Linked DNA regions of Homo sapiens: all the other regions are linked to region 4. The links are contacts of gene promoters, found by promoter capture Hi-C in blood cells and fetal thymus (Javierre and others, 2016). All regions are on one chromosome and are shown on one strand. Each heading gives the region's core, a stretch centred on a gene start or on the middle of the fragment in contact. The rest is flanking DNA. Distances are from core to core; before and after follow the strand shown.

What was found. The method cuts DNA at HindIII sites, captures the fragments that hold promoters and counts their contacts. A CHiCAGO score of 5 or more calls a contact.
Region 1: a contact is called between a fragment that was not itself captured here and the fragment with the promoter of BARD1 in region 4, in 1 of 17 cell types (activated CD4 T cells). The highest score is 7.2, in activated CD4 T cells.
Region 2: a fragment that was not itself captured here is called in contact with the fragment with the promoter of BARD1 in region 4 in 1 of 17 cell types (fetal thymus); the score reaches 9.9 in fetal thymus.
Region 3: a fragment that was not itself captured here is called in contact with the fragment with the promoter of BARD1 in region 4 in 5 of 17 cell types (fetal thymus, naive B cells, total B cells and 2 more); the score reaches 20.8 in fetal thymus.
Region 5: a contact is called between a fragment that was not itself captured here and the fragment with the promoter of BARD1 in region 4, in 3 of 17 cell types (total B cells, fetal thymus and naive B cells). The highest score is 10.3, in total B cells.
Region 6: a contact is called between a fragment that was not itself captured here and the fragment with the promoter of BARD1 in region 4, in 1 of 17 cell types (fetal thymus). The highest score is 7.3, in fetal thymus.
Region 7: a fragment that was not itself captured here is called in contact with the fragment with the promoter of BARD1 in region 4 in 3 of 17 cell types (total B cells, naive B cells and fetal thymus); the score reaches 23.9 in total B cells.

Annotation. Positions count from the first base shown.
Region 1 is chr2:216,502,799-216,506,552 of GRCh38, forward strand. RPL37A (ribosomal protein L37a) reads left to right here. Exons shown (of 4, transcript NM_000998.5): 4 at 1-1,288. Among named protein-coding and RNA genes, the nearest start is that of RPL37A, 5.8 kb to the left of the region's middle. The HindIII fragment of the contact is 527 bases long and covers 1,408-1,934 here.
Region 2 is chr2:213,190,826-213,194,234 of GRCh38, forward strand. It overlaps LOC107985981 (a long non-coding RNA gene), which reads left to right. Exons shown (of 5, transcript XR_007088069.1): 3 at 1,476-1,504. Among named protein-coding and RNA genes, the nearest start is that of LINC01953, 25 kb to the left of the region's middle. RefSeq lists an enhancer at 1-211. The HindIII fragment of the contact is 5,176 bases long and covers 1-3,409 here.
Region 3 is chr2:213,129,258-213,132,911 of GRCh38, forward strand. The region is part of intron 4 of IKZF2 (IKAROS family zinc finger 2); the gene reads right to left. Among named protein-coding and RNA genes, the nearest start is that of IKZF2, 21 kb to the right of the region's middle. The HindIII fragment of the contact is 910 bases long and covers 1,448-2,357 here.
Region 4 is chr2:214,807,929-214,811,635 of GRCh38, forward strand. BARD1 (BRCA1 associated RING domain 1) reads right to left here and starts at 1,755. Exons shown (of 11, transcript NM_000465.4): 1 at 1,484-1,755. The coding sequence starts at 1,641. It overlaps SNHG31 (small nucleolar RNA host gene 31), which reads left to right and starts at 2,301. Exons shown (of 4, transcript NR_110292.1): 1 at 2,301-2,504. RefSeq lists enhancers at 694-743, 1,034-1,113 and a silencer at 1,664-2,233. The HindIII fragment of the contact is 4,673 bases long and covers 1-2,482 here.
Region 5 is chr2:213,172,533-213,176,323 of GRCh38, forward strand. It overlaps LOC105373864 (a long non-coding RNA gene), which reads left to right. Exons shown (of 3, transcript XR_923851.3): 3 at 1,534-1,738. Among named protein-coding and RNA genes, the nearest start is that of LINC01953, 6.7 kb to the left of the region's middle. The HindIII fragment of the contact is 3,670 bases long and covers 1-3,549 here.
Region 6 is chr2:213,051,771-213,055,254 of GRCh38, forward strand. All of the region lies in intron 5 of IKZF2 (IKAROS family zinc finger 2), which reads right to left. Among named protein-coding and RNA genes, the nearest start is that of IKZF2, 98 kb to the right of the region's middle. The HindIII fragment of the contact is 4,308 bases long and covers 1-3,484 here.
Region 7 is chr2:213,155,350-213,158,728 of GRCh38, forward strand. It overlaps LINC01953 (long intergenic non-protein coding RNA 1953), which reads right to left. Exons shown (of 4, transcript NR_146974.1): 3 at 1,678-1,768; 4 at 467-581. Among named protein-coding and RNA genes, the nearest start is that of IKZF2, 5.4 kb to the left of the region's middle. RefSeq lists an enhancer at 1,938-2,007. The HindIII fragment of the contact is 451 bases long and covers 1,693-2,143 here.

The sequences.
Region 1 (3,754 bases), core at 421-2,920, 1.7 Mb after region 4:
CTTCTATAACTTGTTTTTTTGCTCATTACTGGCCTTTGCACGGATGTCTCCCTTCACCTGTACCTCCTGCATTGCCTCTGGCAGAAACATCGCTACCCCAGGAGAATACTTCACTGGGTCAGGCATTTGCTAGATCCATAGCAGTAACTCATCTGTGGATCTCATTTGTGTCACAAAATGGTACTCCTACTGATTTTGTAATGTGAAGCAAGTACTGTGGGTCAGTAGGGGTAGGACCAGGAGTGACAAGTCAGGATTTTCAGGCTTCATAGGAATGACACAGCTCTCCAGGTGAATCTCCTGGAGAATTCTCCATAGGATCTCCAGGTGAGTGACCAGGATTTCATGTAAGCATAGGGAATTGAATGAGCATTAGATGGTCTAATGCTGCGGTTAAGAACACCAACTTAGCCAAACTGCCTAGATAGTTGGGTGACTTGGGTTAAGTGACTTAACCTCTCTGCTTCAGTTTCCTGTATAATTCTTGGTAGTAGAATGGAGTATATGCTGGGTGTTTGGATTATTAATTTGGAGTCTTACAAAGCTGCTATGTTACATGATTAGGCATGGAAAACTTCGGTTTTTATAATCAGTGAAGTACTGCTTTTTGTTTGTTTTCTGAGAGAGTGTCTGTCACCCAGGCTGAAGTGCAGTGGCATGATCTCAGTTCACTGCAGCCTCTACCTCCCGGGTTCAAGCAGTTCTCGTGCCTCAGCCTCCGAAGTAGCTGGGATTACAGGCTTATGCCACAAAGCTCAGCTAGTTTTTGTATTTTTTATTTTTAGTAGAGATGGGCTTTCGCCATGTTGACCAGGCTGGTCTCAAACTCCCAGGCTCAACTGATAACGTCTGCCTTGGCCTCCCAAAGTGCTGGGATTCTGTAAGCCACCTCACCCAGCCATGTATTGCTTTTTTATGACAGTTAAAAGAGGAAAGGGCGGGGGACAGTTTACAGACCAGTGAAAGTGCTGAGATAAATATTTTTATACCTAAGGAAATAGTGATTTTCCCAAGATGATAGGGAGGCAGGTGATGTAGATAGGGCTGAAGATTAGATTTCTGGCTCCTATCTGTGATTTTCTGCTGTACCAGTCTGCCTTCTATTTTATGGGCTCAGTATTCCTTACCTGCCTCTTCCCATGCTAAAGATGGCCCACCTTCGTTTTGTTATTTAAGCAACTTCATCCCCTGGCTTGTTTTCACAGTGGTTTTCTGAGCCTTTGACTCTAAGTCATCTAATTGAACATTGTGTTGTGATATAAAAAGTAAGTTAGGCTTGTGTTTTTCACCAGGCCATTTCATTGTATCCTAACTAGGCGGGTGGCTGTGATAAATGTACAGATTAGCCAATACAGAATCACGTCTAATTCCAAGTTTTCTTTTGGGTATGAAGTTGAGACATGGGGAAGCTTGAGCTTTGTTTTGTCAGCAACAGGTGAGGTGGAGAACTGGGACTGAAGGGGTTTGGGGAGGATCTGTTTAAGATTGGAAAAAATACATCAACTTGGGAATGTAAGCAACTAGAACCAAGCAATCTGTACAACGTTTTTACTGTTGGCTGTCTTCCTCTGGGAAACTAAAAGCCATTTTGTTGATAGCACTTCAGGTCAGAATTCATCAACAGGGAATGGAAACATTGTTTATATGCTTTGGGGTACATCAAGATAAGTTGAGGGTCAAGTTAATGTCATGCCACAATCAACCCTGTATGTCAGGGCCCTTGAGAGCAGAGTAGTGTCGGGAGAGTGGGTGGTATGGTTGACACAAAGACCCACAGGTATTTTTATGGGTTCACTTAATGAAGCAGGGGCTTAGTTGAGGGTAGAGACTGTTCATTAAACCAGCCTTTGTTGACCACTCCCTGCAGTATGGACAGGACATGATCACCATCCTTAAGTCCCACTATAGCAGGGGGGAAACAGTATGCTTAATTAAGCTTAATTATAAACTCTTTGAGTTAGAAAACTGGTGAAAGTGTTATTTCCTCCTGAAGTAATTATGTATATATACATGCCAATTCCAATCAGAATGCTAATTTTTCTTTTTAACCCCAGAGCTGTGCAAAATGTTTCTCAAATTTATTCAGGAACATAAACAACAGTTGGAAAGGACAAGAACTGTCTCCAGCATAATGGTTAAGAATGTGGAGGCTGAGGCAGGACAATGGTATGAGCTGAGACTGCACTGCAGCCTGGGCGACAGAGCAAGACTCCGTCTTAACCAAAAAAAAAAAAAATAATAATAATGTGGATTCTAGAGTCAAGCAGGAGTTATTTGGTTGTTCTGCTATACTAGTTGTGTGACCTTGGAGGAATTATTTAATCCTCTCCTGAACTTCAATCTTTTTTTTTTTTCCCCCGAGATAGAGTCTTGCTCTGTCGCCAGGCTGGAGTGCAGTGTCATGATCTTGGGCTCACTGCAACTTCTGCCTCCTGAATTCAAGCGATTCTCCTTCCTCAGCCTCCCAAGTAGCTGGGATTACAGGTGTATGCCACCACGCCCGGCTAATTTTTAGTAGAGATGGGGTTTCTCTGGCCATGTTGGCCAGTCTGGTCTTGAACCCCTGGCTTCAGGTGATCCACCCGCTTCGGCCTCCCAAAGTGTGGGGATTACAGGCATGAGCCACCGTGCCGCCTAATCTTTTCATCTGTAAGATGGATATAGTAGTTTTCCTCTCAAACAGAACAAATTAGTTAAATTTGGATCTAGAACACTTATAGGTTCAGGAACTGTAGATCTTGGAAAGACGAATAACACTTTGGACATAATGCTGTTTTTCAAAGATGGGGTGGTGGGTGGGTGTTGGTGGGTGTTAGAGGGTGCTATCAGGCCAAAGGAGAAGGAATCAGGAGGGAAACTGCCTATGGCAAAAGCATGAGTTACGATGTCAGGGGAAGGGAGACAACAGGGTTCAGGCCAAGGAAGCCTTTCTGTTTTTGGCCCAAGGAGCGTCAATAAGATCTTTGAAAATACTTTGAAGTCATTTTGTGTGTGTGTATGTGCATACACACCTGATTTGTTTTATTTTTTATTTTTATTTTTTGAGTTAGGGTCTGGCTCTGTCGTCCAGGCTAGAGTGCAGTGGTGTGGTCTCAGCTCACTGCAACCTCTGCCTCCCAGGCTCAAGCCGTCCTCCCACCTCATCCTCCCCAGTAGCTGGGACTACAGGTGTGCACCACCTCGCTTGGCTACCTTTTGTATTTTTCATAGAGACATGGTTTCACCATGTTACCCATGCTGGTCTCAGACTCCTGAGCTCAAGCAATCCACCTGCCACAGCCTCCCATAGTACTGAGATTACTGGCATGAGCCACCGTGCCCAGAATATGAAACACTTTTGAGGTTCAAATCTCTTTGGAATCTTAGGATATTCCTTGTAAGAGGAAGGCTTATTTTCCTCTTTTCCATAGGATCTGCCTTTCCTGTTTATATTGTCTATGGGAAATTGTTGTATGGGCCTGTTTGTCATGGGTTAAATTGTAGCACATTTGTGCTAAGGATCAAATAATACCCTATTTTCTCAGGGGCTTCTCTTAAGTATTTTAGTGTAATTTTTGATTACTTAGTCTCTGGCTTACTTCAGGCTGTAGAGAAAATGAGATGTATTGGCTGCATTTGCACAGGAACCATAAAAGGATTGTTCCAAGCACTATGGGAAAAGGATGGTGTCATTTGCTTAGAGGGCATTGACTGGAGATAGAAAAAGCCATTCTGAAAAAACGGAAACCACAAGAACTGAGGACAGGTTTAATTC
Region 2 (3,409 bases), core at 323-2,822, 1.6 Mb before region 4:
ATTTAGAGGTGATATTTCAAATCAATGTACTGAATGGGTTTTCCAAAAAAATGTTTTGGAACAAATGGCTAGTGTTTGCAAAAATATAAGAGAACCCTGCCTCCCACTTAATTATATTTTGAAATTTAAGGCTGGGCACGGTGGCTCACACCTGTAAACCAGAAAAGCCAGCACTTTGGGAGGCCAAGGTAGGAGGATCACTTGAGGCCAGGAGTTCAAGACTAGTCTGGGTAACATAGCAAGACCCTGTGTCTACAAAAATTTTTTTTTTTAATTTGCCAGGGGGATGGTGCCGTCTGTAGTCCTAGGTACTTGAGAGGCTGAGGAGGAAGGATCCCTTGAGCCCAGGAGTTCTAGGCTGCAATGAGTTATAATCACCCACTAGACTAGAGCCTGGGCAGCAGAGCCAGATCCTGTCTTTGTTTTTTTTTTTTTTTGAGACGGAGTCTCGCTCTGTCGCCCAGGTCAGACTGCGGACTGCAGTGGCACAATCTCGGCTCACTGCAAGCTCCGCTTCCCGGGTTCACGCCATTCTCCTGCCTCAGCCTCCCGAGTAGCTGGGACTACAGGCGCCCGCCACCGCGCCCGGCTAATTTTTTTTTGTATTTTTAGTAGAGACGGGGTTTCACCTTGTTAGCCAGGATGGTCTCGATCTCCTGACCTCATGATCCACCCGCCTCGGCCTCCCAAAGTGCTGGGATTACAGGCGTGAGCCACCGCGCCCGGCCCCAGATCCTGTCTTTAAGAAAAACAAAACAAAACAAAACAGAACAGAGATTTGAATGAAAAGAATAAGATTATAAAATATGAGGAGAAAATTCAGATTAACGATGCTACAATCTTGAAATGGGGAAGTGTATTAGTCTGCCAGGTCTGCTATTAATATAAAAAAAAACCTGTGGCTTAACAGAAATTTATTTTCTCAGTTCTGGAGGCTGGAAGTCCAAGGTCAAGGTGTCAGCAGGGTTGGTTTCTCCTGAGGCCTTTTACCTTCTCCCTATGTCTTCAGGTGGCCTTTTCCCTGAGCATATGCATTCCTGGTGGCTCTTCCTCTTCTTATAAGGACACCAGTCACTGGATTAGGGCCTCACCCTTAAGACTTCGTTTAACTGTAATTACCTCTTTAAAGCCCCTATCTTTAAATAAGCCACACTGGCATTCAGCTTTCAACATACACATTTTGGGGGATGCAATTCAGTCTGTAACAGGAAGTATTTTCTAAGTATCACCTCAAAGACAGACCAGTCATTGATCTTACTAGAAATCAAAGGTGTTTAAAATAATACAAATCTCATTTTTTATTGATTTGATTTTTAAAAAATTGATGTCTTAGCATAAGTAAGATTATGGGGATACAGGGCAGTATAAGTACTCTCCCACACTGTTGGTGGGACAGAACATGGATATAAATACTGTGCAGGGCAATTTGGGTTTTGTAACATACTAAAAGAATGTGTTTCCTCTCCATTTCTTAGATTTGTATCCTAAAGGAGTAGTCCAACGGGTGAGTAAAAATATATGTGCAAGAATGTAAAATTGTATCAGATAATGAAAATAGGAAACAAATTTGGTGTTAGTAAATAGGGGATTAGATCAGCCAATTAAGATACCAGTTACCCAGTAGAATACTTTTTAGTCATTAGGGAAATACATAGTAAATCAGTTTTCCGGGAATGGACCTAGAATCTTTAACATGTTATGTTAAGTGAAAAAAATAAATTATAGTATGTTCCCATTTATGTAAAAAATATAAATAGAAGTATACATGATGAAAAGTAGTAATATATGATCTGAATTACTTACACTGAGCATAGAATATTTTGCTAATCAGAAAGGCAAGCTATTTTCATTTTTAAAAACAACCATTTGTAGAAATGAAAAGCATATTCCATATATAGAAATACATATTTAAAAAATAACATAAAATGGGAATAGATAAAATACATTTGCTTGATGAGGGGGCTCAGAAAATAGAGGAAAAGAAGTCTTATAATATCTATCAGCTTAAACATTTGGGAAACATGGACTTAGAGCTTTCCTGGGAAAGTTTTAAGCTGTCTGAAGATGGAATGTCGTAAGTAAGAAGGGCCCCTCGACACTTGACGAAAAAGAGTTTAAGAAACATGTGGATAGTGGAAGAGGAACACCCTGCCAAACTAAAATTTTGTCCCCAAAATGTATCTCTTAAAGTGGAAGTCTATCCCTACTATGTGCAGAGTTTCAAAACTGATAAACAATTTAGGATTAAAGAAAGTTTTAAGTAATTTCTCTCTTTCATTATGCATGAAGTATTGTTTTCTCACTACATAAAGCATTGCTTCTGAATTGTTTAGTTTTTTAAAATAGACATTTAATTTTTTAATGGACACTTTAATGGACATATTTAAAAGATTAAATATGTTCATACTACTTATGGCATAGGAAGTTCTTTGCTGACAATCTGTATTATACCTAATATGATGTGATTTTTTTAATTTTATTTTTTGTCTTTTTACTTCCTACCAAGTAAAAAGTGTATTTTAAAATACGCAAAGTTCAATTTTTACAAACTCAATACTCAGTCTGTTGTGTTGATCCCACAACATACTCATGATGCTAAAAATTCTAGGCTGGCATTTCAAATGGGAGTGAAACAGCATACTGCACAACTTTCAACAAGCCTAGTGCCAAAAGATGAAAAAATATATTTTCATTTATCATGAGTCCATTTAAGCACCAACATGTATGACTTTAGCATTTAGTGTCAAGAACAATATCAACAAGTAAGGGATGATTATTGGATTTTGGTCACATGTCCTACTCCATACCATCCCATCTGTTTTGTTTTCCTTTATAAACATGGTATATGCAGGTATGGAGCCTCACCTTCACTTTGCTTTTGTATCTGTTGAATGAAGAGTTTTGGCACTAAGGGTACAGAAAGAAAGAGCTGAGAACTTTGTAAGAGAGAGAATGAAGTGCGAAGGGAGTATAGGCTCTGTGGAAGGTGAACTTCCAGCCCTGGAAGCCGGAAGAATAAAAACAAACAAAAAATGGAAAAAATGTTTTAAAGGTGAAAATTGCTAAGTACAAGGGAAGTTTTGTATTCAAACGCTTCTTAAAGGCAACTACTGCCATTTTTTTTCCCTAACAAACATCCAACAGAAGTGCTTTTTTTTATGGAATGTGTTATTTAATTCATGATATTATGAGTCAAGCACTGTACTGAAAATTTCCATTATATATTTATATTACTTTTAAGAAAGAAAAAAGTTGTCTTTAAATATATTTTATATAGATTTAAAATTAGTAAAAGTATTCAGGAGAAATCAAAGCAATGTTGGCTTTTTAAGTGTCAGTATTAAGAAATTAAAAAGGATGCAGAATTAGAACAGTAATTTAAGCAATCCAAAAATAATTTAATATGCTA
Region 3 (3,654 bases), core at 653-3,152, 1.7 Mb before region 4:
TTAAGTATAATAAAGAAAATAAAACAGGATAATGTCATAGAATGCCTGGAGAGGGGCTTATTTATCTAGGATGCTCAGGCAAAGCCTCGCCAAGGAGGCGACAGTTAAATGGAAATAAGAAAAGAAGGAGGCTTTCATGCAAAACAAGGAAGAAAACGTGTCCCAAACCAAAGAAACAGCAAGTACAGAGGTCCTTAGACAGGAACGAACTTGCCATGTCCCGGAAAAGAAAAAGGGAAGAGGTATTAAAAGTTCAGTGAACAGGGAAAGAATAGAGAAGAGGAAGTCAGAGATGGAGGCAGGGCCACAGCCTTTAGGACCTTACAGACTTTGGAAAGGAATTTTAGTTGTATTCTAGTTTCAGTGGAAAGCTTTTGTGTTTAAAGCAATGAATTGTTATGATCTGATTTGGGTTTTAGAAAGTCAGGCTCTGTCTATTGTGTGGAAAACAAACTACAGAGAAGCAAGAATGGAAGCAGGAAGACCGGTTAAACTGTTGCAATATTTTAGGCTTAAGGTACTAGGAAATGATGATAGACTAAAGTTACAGTAGCGGGCCTGGTGAGAATTGTTTAAATTCAGGATGTATTTTAGAAGCAGAGCCAAGGATTTCTGATAGACTGGATGTGGGATTTCCTTTGAGGAAAGAAACAGTGCTAGATGCAGAGTTGAAAGTCATGAAAGCATCTACAGTATCTAAAGAAATAAACTGAGAAAGAGAGAAGAGGACCTGTACATAAAGATATACAGGCTGCAAATAGATGAAGGTGAGTACCAGATGTTTTCTGCTCACTAAGTAATTGGCAGCTATTGATTGTAACACTTCTAATGAAGGCACACCTTCTCTATTTCTTCTCTTTAGATAGGGACACTAGATCTTGTTGTTCTATCAAAAGCTTCTAGTTTTCTGATGTCCTCTAACTGGATCATTTCCTTTATCCCAATAGCCAGTAATCTAGAAAATAAAAACACTTGGTAAAAACAGAAACTCAGAAACAAAAACTAATCACTAAGCTAGGGTCTCTCACAGGCAGGAAAGAAGTCAAAATACCAAAGCATGAGAGCATTTTAGAGCAATAAATGCTTTGTTATAAACTGACAAACACAATTAATAGACATCAGTCATCAAAGCTGTGCCTACCTAGAGACATGATCCTGAGAACACAGTAAGATCCAAAATATCCGTAAACTTCACACTTGAAAAGGAAGCATTTGGGGGAGCACTGAAGTTCCCCACCAACCTTAAGACCCACCCAAGCAGGGAAAAATCAATTTTAATTGTGATTTAAAATAATCTTACTAGTAGCTGAAAGTATTTTACAGTAATTCAAAGGAAAAAAATGTCAAACAGAAAATTACAGATTGATTACCACAAACAGTTCTTTTTGGCACATAAATGCATATGACTTGATTATCATTAAATTGCTACTAAAAATATATGGATACAAGCTTGAATTTTCAGTTCAGTTAGGATTAAGTACATTGCTTTCCTATATATGCCAGTTAGATATTATGGGCTTAATTCACAGAACCATACGCCAAGCAAATTATATTTCATGAGCTTCCAAATAACACAAAATTTTTTTGTAACGTTAAAGAAAACAGTGAAAGAGATACAATAAAAGATTACTTCTTAAGAAGATGATCTGTTACAATGTAAACAAAGAGAATACATGGTATTCTTCAAGCTATTAAATATACTGCCTTATTTCTTGCAGCTATAGGAATGATTACAAACAAATGCTTGTAAAACTAGATAATGATTGCTCATGTAACAAATTGCTTGGACATATTTAAGCAAATATTTCTAGTAAGAATTCAACTGAGGGGGAATGTAAATGTTGGGATAAAACTGGGGGAAATATCTTTTGTAAAGATTGTGTATATGAACCCAAGTACTGTTACAATAATTGTAGACAAATGTGATAATTATCACAACTCCTCTAAGAAAATGGAGGTCTGGCTCACAATCTGGAATCAACAGAACTGTCTTAACAGTTTTAAGGGAGAGCCATTTGATTCATAGGATTCTAAATGATCTTTGAGATTTAGCTACTGGATTAAAGTTTATTAAAAACAACATTAGAATTACATGTCATTTTCATGTATATCTACTAAATGACTGATTTATGACTTGAAAGATTTGGATCATAAAGATCAGAAATATTCATTACTCAAAATAATAATAGTAACACTAACTTTTAAATTGTATCTTTAAGATTTTCCAATAATACCTCTGACCTGTTTGTATATACATTTCAAGATTCTCTAGGTATCCCTTAAAGTGTTTTATAAAATCCATCTCTAAATTCTAGAGTGACACTGGCTGAAAAGATGTATATTTTGAAGCCATGTGAAGCTTTTGAAGTCATGTACTTGAGAAGCTTTTAGTCCAATGTAGTATTGTTTGAATGAGTGTTGAGAAAAGAGTTAAAAGTTGTCTAAGCTAGAGCCATCGTTAGAGCATTTATTTTAAAACTGCCTTCTGGGTAAGACTAGCTGGGTGATTTGGTCTCTGGTATCCTCAACACAGATAGCATAACTGAAGTAACCTGTGGGGTTAATCTGAATAATAATGTCTGGAATAACTGAGAGACGTCTCTAATGCATTCAGTCAATCAGATAACCAACACATAGGGATATTAACTCACAATATATTTTAAAATAAACAGCAAATCTTCTTAATTGAGAGACTACTATGTATAAGGCACTGTGTTAGCTTCTGTGGAAAAGATAAATGAATATTTCTTAAATTATTTCTTAAAATGTATTAGGCCCTGTGATAAAAGCTTTACTAAGTTTATTAACCCTCACAACAACTCCAAGAGACAAGCACTAACTTTCCCTATTTTACAAATGAGGTAACTAAAACACAGCATAGGAAAGATACTATCCCAGTCGGTTAGGTGCTAAAAGTCATATTCTGTCTGCTACCCTCAGGCTGCAGAGATTACAAAGTCATTTTCCCTGCCCTCAAGGAGTTTCCAGTCACACAAAGGAGATAAGATGTACTCAAGAAATTAAGCAATGATAAAACAGGATAGGAGGTGATAAAGGCATCCAAAAAAAAAAAAAAGATCATTTGGAATTAGGGATCGACTGTCCTGTGCCTATGACAATAGTAACTCTGACCCAAAAAAGGTGAAACTTCACTCAGGAAAATGTCTGTTTATGTGTACTCTAATGTGAAATCCTTTTAAACTGAATATTCTGTTTTCTCCTTGATTCTACACAAGAGAGAAAAAAAGAACACTGCTGGGGTATGTATATGTGGTTCTGAGAATTCCAGATATGCAACAGAGACATGAATTTAATATAACACATAGAGCACCATAAGTATGGAAATTAATAAAATTTCAGAGCTATACTAGGAATTCATTCACCAACACATCTAGTTATACAAGTAAATAAGTCCATCCTAAAAACTCACTCTGGACAAGGTCACCTAGGGAGGTACACCAAGCAGCCAAGACCTGCCAGCAAACACATCTTCTGAATTGCCATCCTCAAATGAAATGCATTACTACCACTTAATTACCATTTCAATTATACCCGTCACAAACAGAGTAGGTTTATGTGTGATTCAATTTAATTAGGTAATTTTACTTTCATTTCTTCAGTAATTGATTTGAATACAACAGAATTAATAATTGT
Region 4 (3,707 bases), core at 505-3,004:
TTTCCTATTCTCAGATGACCCATGTGCTACAGGAAAACAAACACACAACTCAAATGTCTTCATGTACTCACTTATCTGAGTGTCACTTTTCTAAGAAGTGCAATGTCATTTTGTCACAGATATTAAAAGTTTTCGTCAAAGAAAATATAAGTGCAAAACTCTGACAGTTAAGTCCTTTTCATTTTTAAAGAAAAAGTTTGGCCGGGCACCGTGGCTCACGCCTGTAATCCCAGCACTTTGGGAGGCAGAGGCGGGCGGATCACGAGGTCAGGAGACGGAGACCATCCTGGCTAACACGGTGAAACCCCATCTGTACTAAAAATACAAAAAATTAGCCGGGCATGATGGCGGGCGCCTGCAGTCCCAGCTACTTGGGAGGCTGAAGCAGGAGAATGGCGTGAACCCGGGAGGCGGAGCTTGCAGTGAGACAAGATCGTGCCACTGCACTCCAGCCTGGGCGACAGAGCGAGACTCCGTCTCAAAAAAGGAAAGAAAAGAAAAAGTTGTGTTACTTATACTTTATGCAACTAGGTAACTTAAGTTCTGCAAGTTAGAAATCAAAGGGGAAAAAAGTCCAAAAAGGATATAAACTTTTGACAGCTACAAATAACAAAAAAACTGCCAGTGATCTTCATACAGAAATACTTAGCTGTACACACAGCAAGTGCTCAATAAAAATGCTTTTCAGAAGAAATGAAAATGAGACAAACCTTTCTTGGGTTTTACAAACCTTCTTGGTTTGTATACTAGAAAGAGCTACACGAAAAAAAGCAAGAAGTAACACTCATGAAAATGTCTTTGGACGGAATGAAAACCCTGAGAGGACTCCCATAATGTGACAGCATGAAGGAAAACAATAAACAGCATCACTAAGAGCGGGGACACCAGACATACAGTCTTTTGAGCAAACTAAGAAAATGAGAAATTCCGTGCCATCTTCAATCTACAACTATGGTAGATATCCGATGCTCCATCCCATCTCACTCGAAAAAGCTGGCACGGAGAAAATGTCAAAAAGGCCAGTTTAACTTAGAGTGGCAGCTGCTTCTAATTTAGAGGGTCTCCGGGGCGGCCCGCCAGCCCAATTCGCCACAGCTCCCGGAAAGCAGCGGGGTAATCCAGGGCCGGGTAAAAAATGCAGAAGCCTCAGCCCCACCCCAGCCCGATTCAAACTCTGGAGGCGCGACCGGGATGAACATTTTTTTAGCCACACCTCCAGACGGTTCTTCAGCCCGCTGAAGTTCAAAAACTACCGTTTCAGTTGGATTCAGGGCAAGGGGAGGCCGGTAAGTCGCCCAAAAATAAAGTGAATGAGAAGCAGAAGTTGTTAATACTATATCCCCCGGCAGGTGCTAACCGCACGCCGACCCGACTGCAGCGCGGGAACGGAAGGAGGAAACGGAAGATTTGAAAAGATTCTGCCGCCCCCAGAAACTGTGCGACCCGTGCCCTCGCAGCCACCCCCAAGAAGCTCCGTCTTTACCAACGCGAGCAGCGCAGCAGCTTCTCCAGGCGGTCGAGCGCGGCGCGACTGTGGGCCCAGGCACCGCGACCATCCGGTTCCATGGCGGGCGCGGAACGAGGCTCGTTCCCGGAGCGGATCCTCGGCTGCCGGTTCCTCGGCTGCCGATTATCCGGCATCGTCCCGCCTTCGGATGAAAGGCTCCTCGCAGAGCGGGAAGCAAGGAAGCCTCGGGAAACCACAGGGAAGCTGCAGGCCAGCGACTCGAAACCGGCCAAGCTCTTCCCGCGTCTGGGACGGCGGGCCGCCAGAGGGGCGGGGCGCGCGGGGAGGGGCGGGGCACGGCGGCCGCAATGCTCCCAAAATAGGGACTCGCAGGGCACAGGGGCGGGGCCGCGAGAGCCAGCCGCTGGCCGAGTGGGCGGGACCTAGGGGTGGGGCTGGAGGCTGAAACTTGCCAAAGTCCCGGCGTGTGGGACTTAGGGGAGGGGCCGCGAGAGCCGTGGGACCGAGGGGGCGGGGCCGGACGGCTGAAACTTGCCAAAGTCCCGGCGCGCGGGTCCTAGGGGCGGAGCCGCGAGAACACGCCGGGGACAGAGGGGGCGGGGCCTAGGAGCCTCGGGGCGGGACAGGACGGTCGAAACCGAAGTCCTGGCGCGCGGGGCCCAGGGGCGGGGCCTAGGGGCCTCGGGGCAGGACAGGACGGCTGAAACCGAGGTCCCGGCGCGCGGGGCCCAGGCGCCGTGCAGTGAGAGCACGCCGCTTGACCGAAGGGGCGGGGCCTGAAGGCTGAGCGCAGTCGCGAGGCTGTAGTTGGCAGGAGAGCGGGCGGGGCCTGAAGCCCCTCTGGGCTGCCTGGACGGATGAAGTCCAGGTGGAAAGCCAGTCGACGTTTCCCGGGAGCTACGACTCCAGGGACCCTCATCCGAGCTTAACCGTTGGAACAATCACAAACCCAGAAACTTTTAGCTGAGTGTTATTTATAAAAAGCGCTGTTTTGACTGCTGTTGGACTTGGAAAAGCTTTGCCCACGATACTGAAGGTACCACTCTTTGTTCCTAAGAAAGCAACCTTTTCTTTCCTCTCACCTCAGCTGTGGCGTATATTGTAACTGAGTAAAAATAAGGAAAGTTTCTAATTCTAACTAGTTAACAAATATCAGCTCAAAGGCATGTCTGAAAAGATCTGGTTTACTTTTAAAATATTGGTATAAAATTTCAAAAAGGGTTTTTTTTGTTAGAGAGTGTGTCCACCTTCCTCCTCCAGATCTTTCACTGATCGCCGTAATTTACAGATAAGACCTACAGAGCAACCCGTCATGCCTTCCTGCCGCGCCCCAAGTTCATTTCCAAGTCCTTGCATTTTTTCCCCCTAACTTGTCTCGAATGCACCCATTTTCTCTCCGTCTCTGCTCCACAACATCCCCAGTTGCCTCGTCCTCGCCTGGTTTCCTGTCGTAGCTTTCTAGCTGATATCCAAGTGTCTATCCAGGTCCCAGCCAGTCCCGAGACTGCGGTGTGGCCGCCTAAAACATTTCCAAACACAAAACTCATCGTGGCACTTCCCTTTCTTAAAACTCCTTAAAGTTTTTCTCTGCTCTTTGACTAGCCTCTTGTCAAAACCTCCTCTGGCCATCATGGTCCCAACCCCACAGTGCGTTCCCTTAGGTCATTAAAAGCCCCTGCACCTTGCTGCCTCATGGCTTTTGCGCAAAGATTCACTTTGGAACCTGGAATTGGCCTCCTCTCCATTCCTCATCCTTCAGAATACAGCTGAAGTATCACTCCTTAAAGGTTTTCCTAGTTCCTAGACTGGATTCTCTCAGGTGCATCATATCACCTGTGTATGTAGATACACACACATACGATTATGTGCGTGTCCCCTTCTAGTTCAAAACCTCCAAAAGGCCAGAGATTGGCTGCATGTGACTCATTTCCCAATATCGCTTCATGTGGCACATGCAGTGCTTGGCTCCAGGTAGGTGCTCAGTGTTTGTTGAATCATTGAACTACCTACCCAAGCCAGACCCAGCTTTAAGTGCTTTCCTATGTTAATACCTGCCTTAAGCCTTATAGGGACCCTATGAAATGGGCATTAGTATCTGTAGTGTCACCCCCAAATTCATATATTAAAAGTTGTAACCCCAACGTGATAGTATTTGGAGGGGACCTTTGGGTGGTAGTTAGATTTAGATGGGGTTATGAGGGCAGAGCCCCCATGATGGGGTTAATGACCTTGTAAGAAG
Region 5 (3,791 bases), core at 465-2,964, 1.6 Mb before region 4:
ACCTTGAGGCTATCTGAAACAATATGCTACAGTGGAAAAGTATCTCTCTTAATCTGATGTTTACTGAAGGGCTGAGTTGTTTGAGAAATCTCACCGGCTCTTTGTCACTCAGGACCATTTTTTATTTGGGGTCCAAAAGCTATCAACTTTTCAACCATGTAAGGCCCTTGATCTCTGAACTTTCTTCTGTCCATTCTCTGCTTGGAAATCAGCTCGAGCTCACCTGAGTGCATATCTTTCTTGCTTAAGTTCTGGCCAACTCACTAACCCTCTGACAGTTCCAACTACTTGCCCTAGAGCCACAGATTCAGTAGATGTGTGGTCTGCTTTCCAAGCTCTCCCATGACAGCTTTACTGAAAACCTGCTGAGACACAGCAGAACTCTCCAAACAGCCAGGCTGCTCTATCATAGCCTCACTTTCTGTTGGCCAGCCACTAAATTAATGCCACTTATTTTTGGATATTGTGATTATAGTAGCACATGTCAAAGTACCAATTTCTGTACTTAGCAAGGTGGAATAGCTACTGTAACCAAACACCAAAATCTCAATGCCTTAATATACTAATAGTTAATTTCTATTGACATAACATATTACTGTGAGTTTATAATACCAGGCTCCTTCCATCTTTATTTTATTTTGAATGACCAAAACTTATATTTTTGAAAATCTTGGTTTAAAACTTTTAGTTGCAGCAATTAAAAGACCTGTTTAGAAGTTTGGTTTGGCTGGGTATGGTGGCTCAATCCTGAAATCCCAGCACTTTGGGAGACTGAGGTGGATGGATCACTTGAGCTCAGGAGTTCAAGACCAGCCTGGGCAACATGGCAAAACCTGGTCTCTACAAAGAATACAAAAATTAGCCAGGTGTGGTGATGTGCGTCTGTGGTCCCAGCTATAGGGAGGCTGAGGTAGGAGGATCGCTTGAGTCCAGAAGGTGGAGGTTGCAGTGAGCCAGGATCACGCCACTGTACTCCAGTCTGGGTGACAGAGCTAGACCTTGTCTCAAAACAAATAAACAAGTAATTTGGTTTATTGTAATGCTTAGATTTAGTGCTTGTCATAGTTAAAGACTCCTTACAATCAGAGGCAGAACTAAATGGAAGAAATATATATTTGTCTGCACTGAAAACATCATAATACTCTGTTTTCAGTCCTACTCACCAATTTATACAAAGATGATTTTGAAATTTTACTTATAAATTTCAATTTCCATCTTAATGTTAGTAGTTCTTACAAAGTAATCAAAGGATTGGCTAGTTTGTTTTTGACAAATGTACTTCAAACATACTGTAATATTTTTGGCATGTCAGAAAATTTTGTATTTAAATTTTTTAGCTATCAGAATATGAAAAGTGTTTTTAAAGATGGCAGATTTACTTACATTGCTTCAGCTGTAAAAGAATGTTCTAGTAGACACCATCCCCAAAATCCCTTTTCAAAATGTATATTCTTTTTGAAAGTAATTACTGTTTCACTTATTGTTAAAATATTACCTCTACCATTAAGGAATTGCTTATTTATATTTTTGCAGGTATCTATTAGGCAGTATAGCCACTGGCTATGACAGAAAATGTCACCAACCAGAAGCTGACAATCAAGAGAGCCCTTTCTCAGGGCTAAGAAGAAGGAGTGAAAAATAAATCTAGAGGGGCCAATGAAAGATATCTGACACACATAAAATCAGTCACACATGGGTGAACTGTAAGAGACTGAAAGTAAATAAATGAATGAAGTTACCCTTGTCAAGCCCTCCAGTTATGGAACTCCTCCATTTCCCTCAAAAAACCTCATATAATCACATGTGAGAAAAGACTGTTAGGGTCTCTAATGGGGCCTCTTTTCTAAACAAACTGAGAAATGAAGCAACATGTAACATATGAAGGCAAATTCTCATGTTTAGTATTATGAAATCTAGATTAAAGAATGTAGCTTAATATAAGTACCAGATGGGCCTGCTACAAAGACCCCAGATATAGCAAATTTACCCAATCCATTTAGGTGTTGCTATAGAGAGGCAGGTGTCCCCCAGGGAGAGGACAGAATTCCAGTAGTCCAAGGAGAGGACTGACAGTATCGGGTTGGAGGGGTAGAAAGACCAAGACTTTGCCTAGTAAAGTCCCTTCTAATAGAAACAAGGCTTGTGAAAACCATGTTCCCTTCTACTGAAGATTGGCTAACGAGCAGATCTAGTGAGGATACCAGGGTCAACTCATATAGTAAATATCAATAAAGTGTAATGTATTTCTTTTTAGATAAAAATAAATAGAAGTACAAGTTCTAATGTTTTCTTTCTTTAACCTGAGGGATTTTTCTGCAGACCTCTTAGGGTATACCACTTTTGAGGCTGTTGGGCTGAAATGTGCACTATTGGACCACTATTGGCAAGTTTTGTTCTAGCCCAGTTCCTGGTAATAATCCTGGCCAAAGGTGGGAAGAATTTCATGCTGTGGGCAAAATTTGCCTCAGGCACTATTTTGACTTTCATCCAGGTGTCCTGGAATCTGACTTAGTCCCAGTACCACTTCCAACCAAGCTCCAGGCCCATCTTCCACTGAATATGTCCTCTAGCTCTTTGTGAATAGCTCAGCAGCAACATGTCATCACTGCTTAATTCGAAACTGACTGCTATTGACAGTGTGTCAGCCTTATGATTATATATGAAGGACAATATATTATGTCAATTCACTTAAGTCTTTATCTCTCATGAAGGTTGGAATGGCTTTTATTTTTTATCTGATTGACTCTCAGCAAATCAAGCAAGAGGTCTTAAAAAGAAAAAGTAGAAATATCTTACAATTCAATTGATACAATGGATAGAATTTTCTGTTCCTACTCCAATGTCGTCATAGTAAGAAAAGAATTTGAAACTTGAATTTGAAATTTGAAACTTGAAAGACTAAAATGGGAGACTAATGACATTTACGCTGTCTTCTATCCTTTTTTTGTTGTTAGAATCTATTTTTTTAAATAAACTTTTACTTTTAGATTAGTTTTAGATTTACAGGAAAAAAGTTGCAAAAACTGTACAACTGAACTCTACAATTCACTCTCAGTTCCAAAACCACCTTCAAAGTTTTTTTTTTTTTTTACTTGTTTGGTTGTTGGGATTGGTTTGCTTTTCATTTTTTGAAACCACATGCATTTAATGTTACTTCAGGGCAATAATCCCAAGATTTGTGTAGGGAGATAACACTGCCATATTCCAGGGATTTAGGGTAATAAAAACACCCTGCTTAGTTAGAATAAGAATTCAGAGCCATGACCTCCGGTCTTCTTAAGTAAATACAGGAGAATTTAAAGCTGCCCTCTGGGCAAATATTTTAGGGGCTGATGAGCATTTACCTTCACTTAAGATATAGCTTGTCATCAATATACCCAAGTGACTGACAATTTCTATTTACTGTTTAATAAAAATGAACCCAGAATCCACTGAAGTTCCTTGTCAACTCCAGGACAAAAAAGGAGGTACATCTTGATGAGCAAGTAGAACAACATTTTAAAGTCTAAGAAGGTCACCAGTCTTTGGATGAGTCTATAGTAACTTAGAAGCTTGTTGCCCAATAACCCAAAGAGGAGAATGAACAAACTCAAAATGAGGGAGTGTGACTGCCCCTTTAACACTTAAACTCCATGCCCTTGGAAGCAGAAGTCCTAAAACTCCACAAAGAAACTACATTGGTGCTCAACAAATATTTGTTAACTAATTGACTCTGAAGAAATTTGGTAATTTTTACTCTGCATAAAGAGTGAGAAGTGGCCACTGAGTTGCCAAGAAAACAGAGAAGGCTT
Region 6 (3,484 bases), core at 181-2,680, 1.8 Mb before region 4:
TACTTTTCACTCCAAAAATTTGATTTTACTTTTAAAATATGTCTACGTAAGGTTTCCCAAGCAAGTAACAAATTCGTTAACAATAACTTTACAAGAGTTAAATTACTAAGTGTGGTGAACAATTTGAAGTCATGTCTGCCTTTAGATAATACTCCTATAGCATGCTGACTCCAATTTCCTTTAAACCTCCTACAATGTTTGAGTTGAAATATTTCAAAATCCTTAATTTAGAGTAGTTCATTCTTCAAAAATAATGCTAGTCTAAAAATGAAACAATATCTTTTTTAAAAAGAATTTTAAAATTCACCTAATTGAGTTTTATGCGATTAATGAAAGGGTAATTTAGTTTTTACATTTACAAAATACTCTAGATATCTTCAAATCTTTTTAATAAGAAATTACTTCTGAATTTATATGATCATCCCCAAATGGCGTAGAATAAACAAAAGGTAGTCTAGGTATATCTGGAAATATTGTCCTGTTGCTGAGTGTGGAAGTCATACTATGGAAGTCTTTGGTAAGTTCCCAAGGACATGGGAAGTAAAGAAGAACAAGGCATGATGAAGGTAAATAGTTTTCTTCCTTTTTTTGGTAAGAGAAAAGGGGCATTGAAAATAATACATTTTAATTTCAATAAGATAAGGCTTTGGGAGATATTGATTTGAATTATGAATAAGTCTTGATAGATGCTTTTTACATTTGGATACTAATTTTATGGCTTTCCTCATTTTATTTGCCTAACTCCTGTTGATGTCTTGATTATATGAAAAGATAATTATCATTTCAAGAGTCCACTTGTTTTATTGTGTTCCAAACTAAAGTTAGTTGGAATCATAATGAAACCCTCAAAGACAATACTGTTAGAAACAAGGATTAAAACAGAGGGTAATTTATGAGATTTCTAAAAGTATACATAGTTATATTCCAGGAATAATCCAAATATAGAAGTAATATCCATATCTGTCTAATAACAAATAAAAAGTGAATTGACTCAATTTTTGATAAAGTTATTTCTATAAAACATTAGCAACCCTTTTATTGAATGTCGTGGGGTATTTCCTGGCCTAGGCATTACAGAATAAGTGTAAAATTATCTGATAATTAAGTAAAAGATTCAGTTAACTATCTTTTCTCTATGCAAATGGTACATATGCAAAAACTCCATACTGTCTATGAAACTTTAAAACAACATATCTCAATTATTTCTTGTAAATAATTTGTTCTTTAAATGGACTGCATCAATGTGCCCTTTTTGAGTCAGTTTAGACTTTGTCTGAAAAAAATATTAATCATGTTCTTCATATGTATATCAAAGCAAATTTTAAGAAAATCTCACAAATTTACTAACTACATTAATGGAGCAATCCAAGCTGAAAACATTAAGTAGTTTGTTATAACCATAATGACTAATCTTTCCCCTGGTAGGCACAAAAATCTAGACTAACAAAACTGGATCGAGGAAAATAATTAAGATATGGTCATGTGTCCTTCATGTCCATATCTCAATCTGTTGTTTTGTTTTTATTTTTAAATACAATAGAACAATCTACTGGTCCATTTTTATTTATTGACTGGGTGAGATTATATATTATTTTTATTATGGAATATCTTATATTTCAATATTTTATGTACCTTCATAAACACCTATTTCTAGACCTGCATTTAAATATTCAATTAAAATGCAAATATATATGCATCAACTTGCTTTGGTGAATCAAAGACAGAGGGTGCTCCTATGTTGGGTGGAACAACCTACAAATATGCAGAATCTCAAGCATCTGCTGAGTGCCTTTGAGCAAGAGGATGGCTGCACAAAGCTGCAATGTACAAAATACGGTGCTGAAAACTGAGTTACAAGATGGGAGTAGATTAAGGAGAGGCAAAATTAGGGAATTCTATATGTATAATGTCCAATCGATATGTGTTCATGCATGAATTGATTTACTTTCCCTATTTGTTTACTCTTCTCTCTATATTCCCAGTGAAGAGTGCCTGGAGTATCCGATGACAATATTACCTGATTACTTACTAAAGTAGCAATACCAAATCAATAAAATGAAACCATTAATAAGACACTGCAATTGGTACTTTAGTAGAGTATGACAGAGAAAGAAGAAGAGTGGATTCGATCTGATGCTCCATGATATTGTAATGAATTGGATGGTTGTGCATCTTTTTTCACTATCAATTTTATATTAGAGGCTGGGCACGGTGGCTCACGCCTGTAATCCCAGCACTTTGAGAGGCTAGGGTGGGTGGAACAACTGAGGTCAGGAGTTTGAGACCAACATGGTGAAACCCTGTCTCTACTAAAAATACAGAAATTAGCTGGGCCTGGTGGTGGGCACATGTAATTCCAGCTACTTTGGAGGCTGAGGCAGGAGGATCGCTTGAACCCAGGAGGTGGAGGGTGCAGTGATCCAAGATTGCACCACTACACTCCAGCCTGGGCGACAGAGCAAGACTCCAACTCAAAAAAAAAATTATATTAGATATTCTATGAACTAAAAACACTAAAATATATGTTTCTCAAAGGCATTATAAGGTTTTAAGACAGTATCTTTAATATGAGAGATAAACAATTGATAAGAGTGGGAAGTTCTAAAATGCAGACTAGTTCATGGTATTAAGGAGAAAACATTTGGCTAATGACTAGATTCTGACTACATTTTTCTCAATCTAGTTTAAATTAAAGAAATGCAAATAGACTTTCTAGTCTCAAAATGGTATTAAAGTGGTGTTGAAAATGGCAGGACACACTCAGATGTATAAACTGGATCATCAGAAATATGTTGAAGTGTCTAGTTTAATGATATCATGTCCACAATTTCAAAGTTGACAAAGCATGACAGGTATCACAGCTTCTCCGTAAATGGCTATTAACTTTAAGAAAAATCTAGATCTGAAGAAAGTATAATAATTTGCACAATGCTCCAATAAACACTGATTGACAAAAAAAGATAGTGTTGCAAGTGTACTTTAACATACTCCTTGCTGTTATGAGTTGAGTGAGTCTCGTATTCCTAGGATTTGTGGAAATCTGTATAACTGTTTATAAACTTTATTATGCCAATTAGATTATTTTCAAAAATAAAATAATTCAACTCTACCACACTAGTAAATAACAAAAGGACAGTAGAGTAGGTATATAATTATTATTTTATTTACAAATTAACAATCCTCATGAATATTATTGTAGCTACAGTGAATCACTGATTAACCTAAATTTTCTAAAAACTGTACTCTGGTTCTTTGAATTTTCTTAATTCAGAACATAAAAGATCAATTAAAAATCTTCTAAATACTGTTTTTAGTTTATTTTTTAGCTTAAAATTTAACATTGCATGCAATTCAACTGAAAAGCCATTAGACTGACTGTGTTTTGTTTGTATTTTACTAGATAGGAGAAGTTACACATTTGAATGAGTGTTATCTTCCTTAATACAATCACTCTTACATAATGAATATATTATAACTTTGTGGA
Region 7 (3,379 bases), core at 668-3,167, 1.7 Mb before region 4:
CATGAACCAGGGTGACTATCAAGAAATGCAGCAGGTTTAATTTTGTAATCACTAAGTGTAATCAGCAAAAGAAAAATTTTACAAGGCAATATAGCTAAAAGGTACATTGTGGAGTATTGGTTTTGTTTTCTTTGGGTAGTTTGTTTTATCTATTTTAGATTTAAAAGCCCTAAGTACCCTTTAAAGGAATTTGGGTAAAATCCCCTTTTGTTTGCTCAAGGAATTAATTGTACGTTTTTAAGTTTTGGGGGTCTTTTTAGCAGAAGGTGGGAGGGGACAATTTGGAAAATTATAATTCTTTCCTAAAATCAAAGAAGAAATTTTTGGAAATGAATTCTATATTTTTTTATTTAAATGGCTTTATTGTGCTAGATATATAATCAACCAGAATAGGTACCCTAAAATAACTTGAATCCCTGAAAAAGTTAAGAATAACAGGCACACATAAGCACAATGTTTTAAAACCGATAACTTCTTTTATTTTTGTCAGGTGATGTTGTTCTTGTCTTTGAAGTAGTGTTCTCTTTTTAAGCGGGATATGGAACAATGGTCTCACTTACTCCTGTTGACCTAGATTGGCACTATGAAGAAGCAAGAAAGCCAAAAATGGAACTACCTTTTCAAAGAAAATATTCTAAGATACCAAATCCAGTTCATAAGTAAAGCATATAAATACTGTCAAACTTTACTTCCCTGAGTGCACTGATAGTCTGGGGTCTATTCAGCTGGCATATAAGTCCCACATGCTGAGGGTCTTCTAATTCCATCTACCTTGAACAATAGTTTCTTTTAACAGTCTTAAGAGTGTCACTTTGCAATTAGAGATAAGGCTCTTATGCAAATACTCATGTCCCTAAAAAAGGTAACATTATGACTTAAATTCACACGTTGATAGAATACTATCAGATTTCTTCCAGAGAGAGTGTTTTGCTGTAGAGCAGGTGATAAGCTAACTCTATCCCAAATGAGAATGATAAATTACGGGAGTTAAACCAGTGGGGTGAGGACCAGAGAGGTTCCTGAAAAAAATGAAAGCACACATTTTTAAAGATGTCATTAAAACCCACCATAATTGCTTTTAAAATGCAGATTTGTTCAGCATTTGATAAAATGAGTTCCATTAATGCAAAAACAAGGGAATTTTGAACTGGGTCAAGTGGTGATGCTCAAAGTCAACTCTAAAAAGGATTGAGAAGAAACCCTAAAATTTTAGAGCACAAAAAGTACAGGGAAGTTATTGGAATCCTCAATGAAGTGTTAATTCAAGAAATGAAAAAGATATGATTCAACTTTGTAAAGAAATAACTTACCAAAAGAGGGTAACAAAGGAGAAGACGCCTGGTGAGCATTAATTTAGATACAGGACAAAAAAAAAACTCATTATTTGGAATATTTTTCCGCAGCTACATGCAAGAGATTAAAAAGAAACTTATTTTGCTGGGGACCAGCAGGAAAACCAAACATAATCATTTGACTTTGGAATTGGGAGGTGAAAATAGGACAGATTAACCTAACGATCTGTGATATCAAAGGTTGGATTCTGCAAGAGAGATCCATACTCTAAAGCAGAGTGATGACAGGTTGCATCTCAAGGGAAACATTTGGTGGTTAAACCAGTGCCAATAGCAGTATGATACTGTCTTTTTAATCCTGTGAAAAGCTTGTGGAAGTACATACCCAGTGTTTGTGAGAAGCTTCAACTCTTTATAAACCAAAATTCTTTCACAGTAAAGCAAAGTCTAATCACTTGCTTAACAATCCTGTTAAGCTGAAAAAAAAAAAAAATAGAGGAACACATTACCAACAGATAGTAAAGGAAATAATCCAGAGAATTCACCTTCCCCATTTTTATAGCCAGATGGTTACAACCTAGGGAATTGAGAACCATATAGGGATAGAACTGGGGAGCCATTTTCTGTTTTATAACTCTGAAAGAGGGCGTGAGCTATGGAAAAGGGAATTGAATCAAAGAAAGGTCATTTACAAGTAGTAAAGTCAAATGTCATCTCCCCCAATTTTCATGACTGTGGTTTAGAAAAAGGTTAGCTTAATATAGAACTTAGTGTGGCATTCTGAACTGTCGTAAGACATGATAAAGGAGAGAGTAACACCATCAGTGTATCTCCCCCAGCAGCTGTGCCAAAGCTTCACAAAAGTATTTAAAACCTGACGTCATGGTGAGGTACTAGACACCTGGGAAAGTCCCACTCAGTAGACTAAGAATATCACTCTAAGTCCTGTAAACTATATTGCAGAAATGGCCACATTGGAAGACTGTACTTTTGAAGTGTACTATTATTGAGAAATAAATCCATACGAAGAATCTATAGCATTTTAAATTGATGATATAACTGATTTCAATGAAGTTAGAGTATCAGTGGGACTAGGAAAGTCACATATATCATTTTTATAATTATATCCATTTATTTCGTGCCAGATACCATGGTAAGCATGTTACATGCATTATCTCATTTAACACCCACTGTCATTTTAAGAGAGGTAATACTACCCCATTTTTCACATGAAGAAAGCTTGGAGACAGTATTAACTTGTCCCTGGTCCCACAGTTTCAGAGCTAGACAGTGTCAAACACATATTTTAAGTTCTAGAAAGCCCATATTCATAACCATCATACTATAGTCTCTCTAAATTGCCAATTATTTTCATCAATCATACAGACGTCTTACTGTAGTTAAATCCAGCCTTATGAGTAATACGCAGTCCACTGTTGTATCTCTTGAAAGCATACTGAATGTCCAGGGTGTTTTAAGAAGGTTAATTGAATGTGGTATCAACATAGAACTTTTTACCAAACCCAGAACTTATCTATGTGTGAAACATTACCTATTTGGCATTTAGTATGTTAATATCAGATGTTTATTAATATCTAGAGCTCTTCTCAATAAGTGAATGACATGAGAGAATCACTGAGAGTGAATTGAAAGAAAGTCACCCTATGAAGAGTTGAGTAACAATCAATGGTGACACAGAGATCCAGATAAGAACATAACTTTAAAGTCTGGGTCACCAAGCATATTTGCACATTTTATTTCAAAGGGGACCATTTCAGATTTATTACTCCCAGAAACAGATGGATCATACGGCTGCCTTTTGTAGACATACTTCACCTACATGTGTAAATAATGAGTGCATGGCTTTCTGTGATAAACACTGTAATTGTAAATGGTTACGGCTTCTTAAACGATATTTCTCAGGAAACAGATTTTTTTTCCAGTGGAGAACAGCTCTCAGTTTATAGTAAAAGTCAAGTTGAACATTTTGCTAGGGTTTATACATGAAGCTTGTGAAATTAGAATGTTTCTCTTGTTTTTAATTTACAAATACAGTGAATACTGGAGTAGAGAAACGTAACTATATT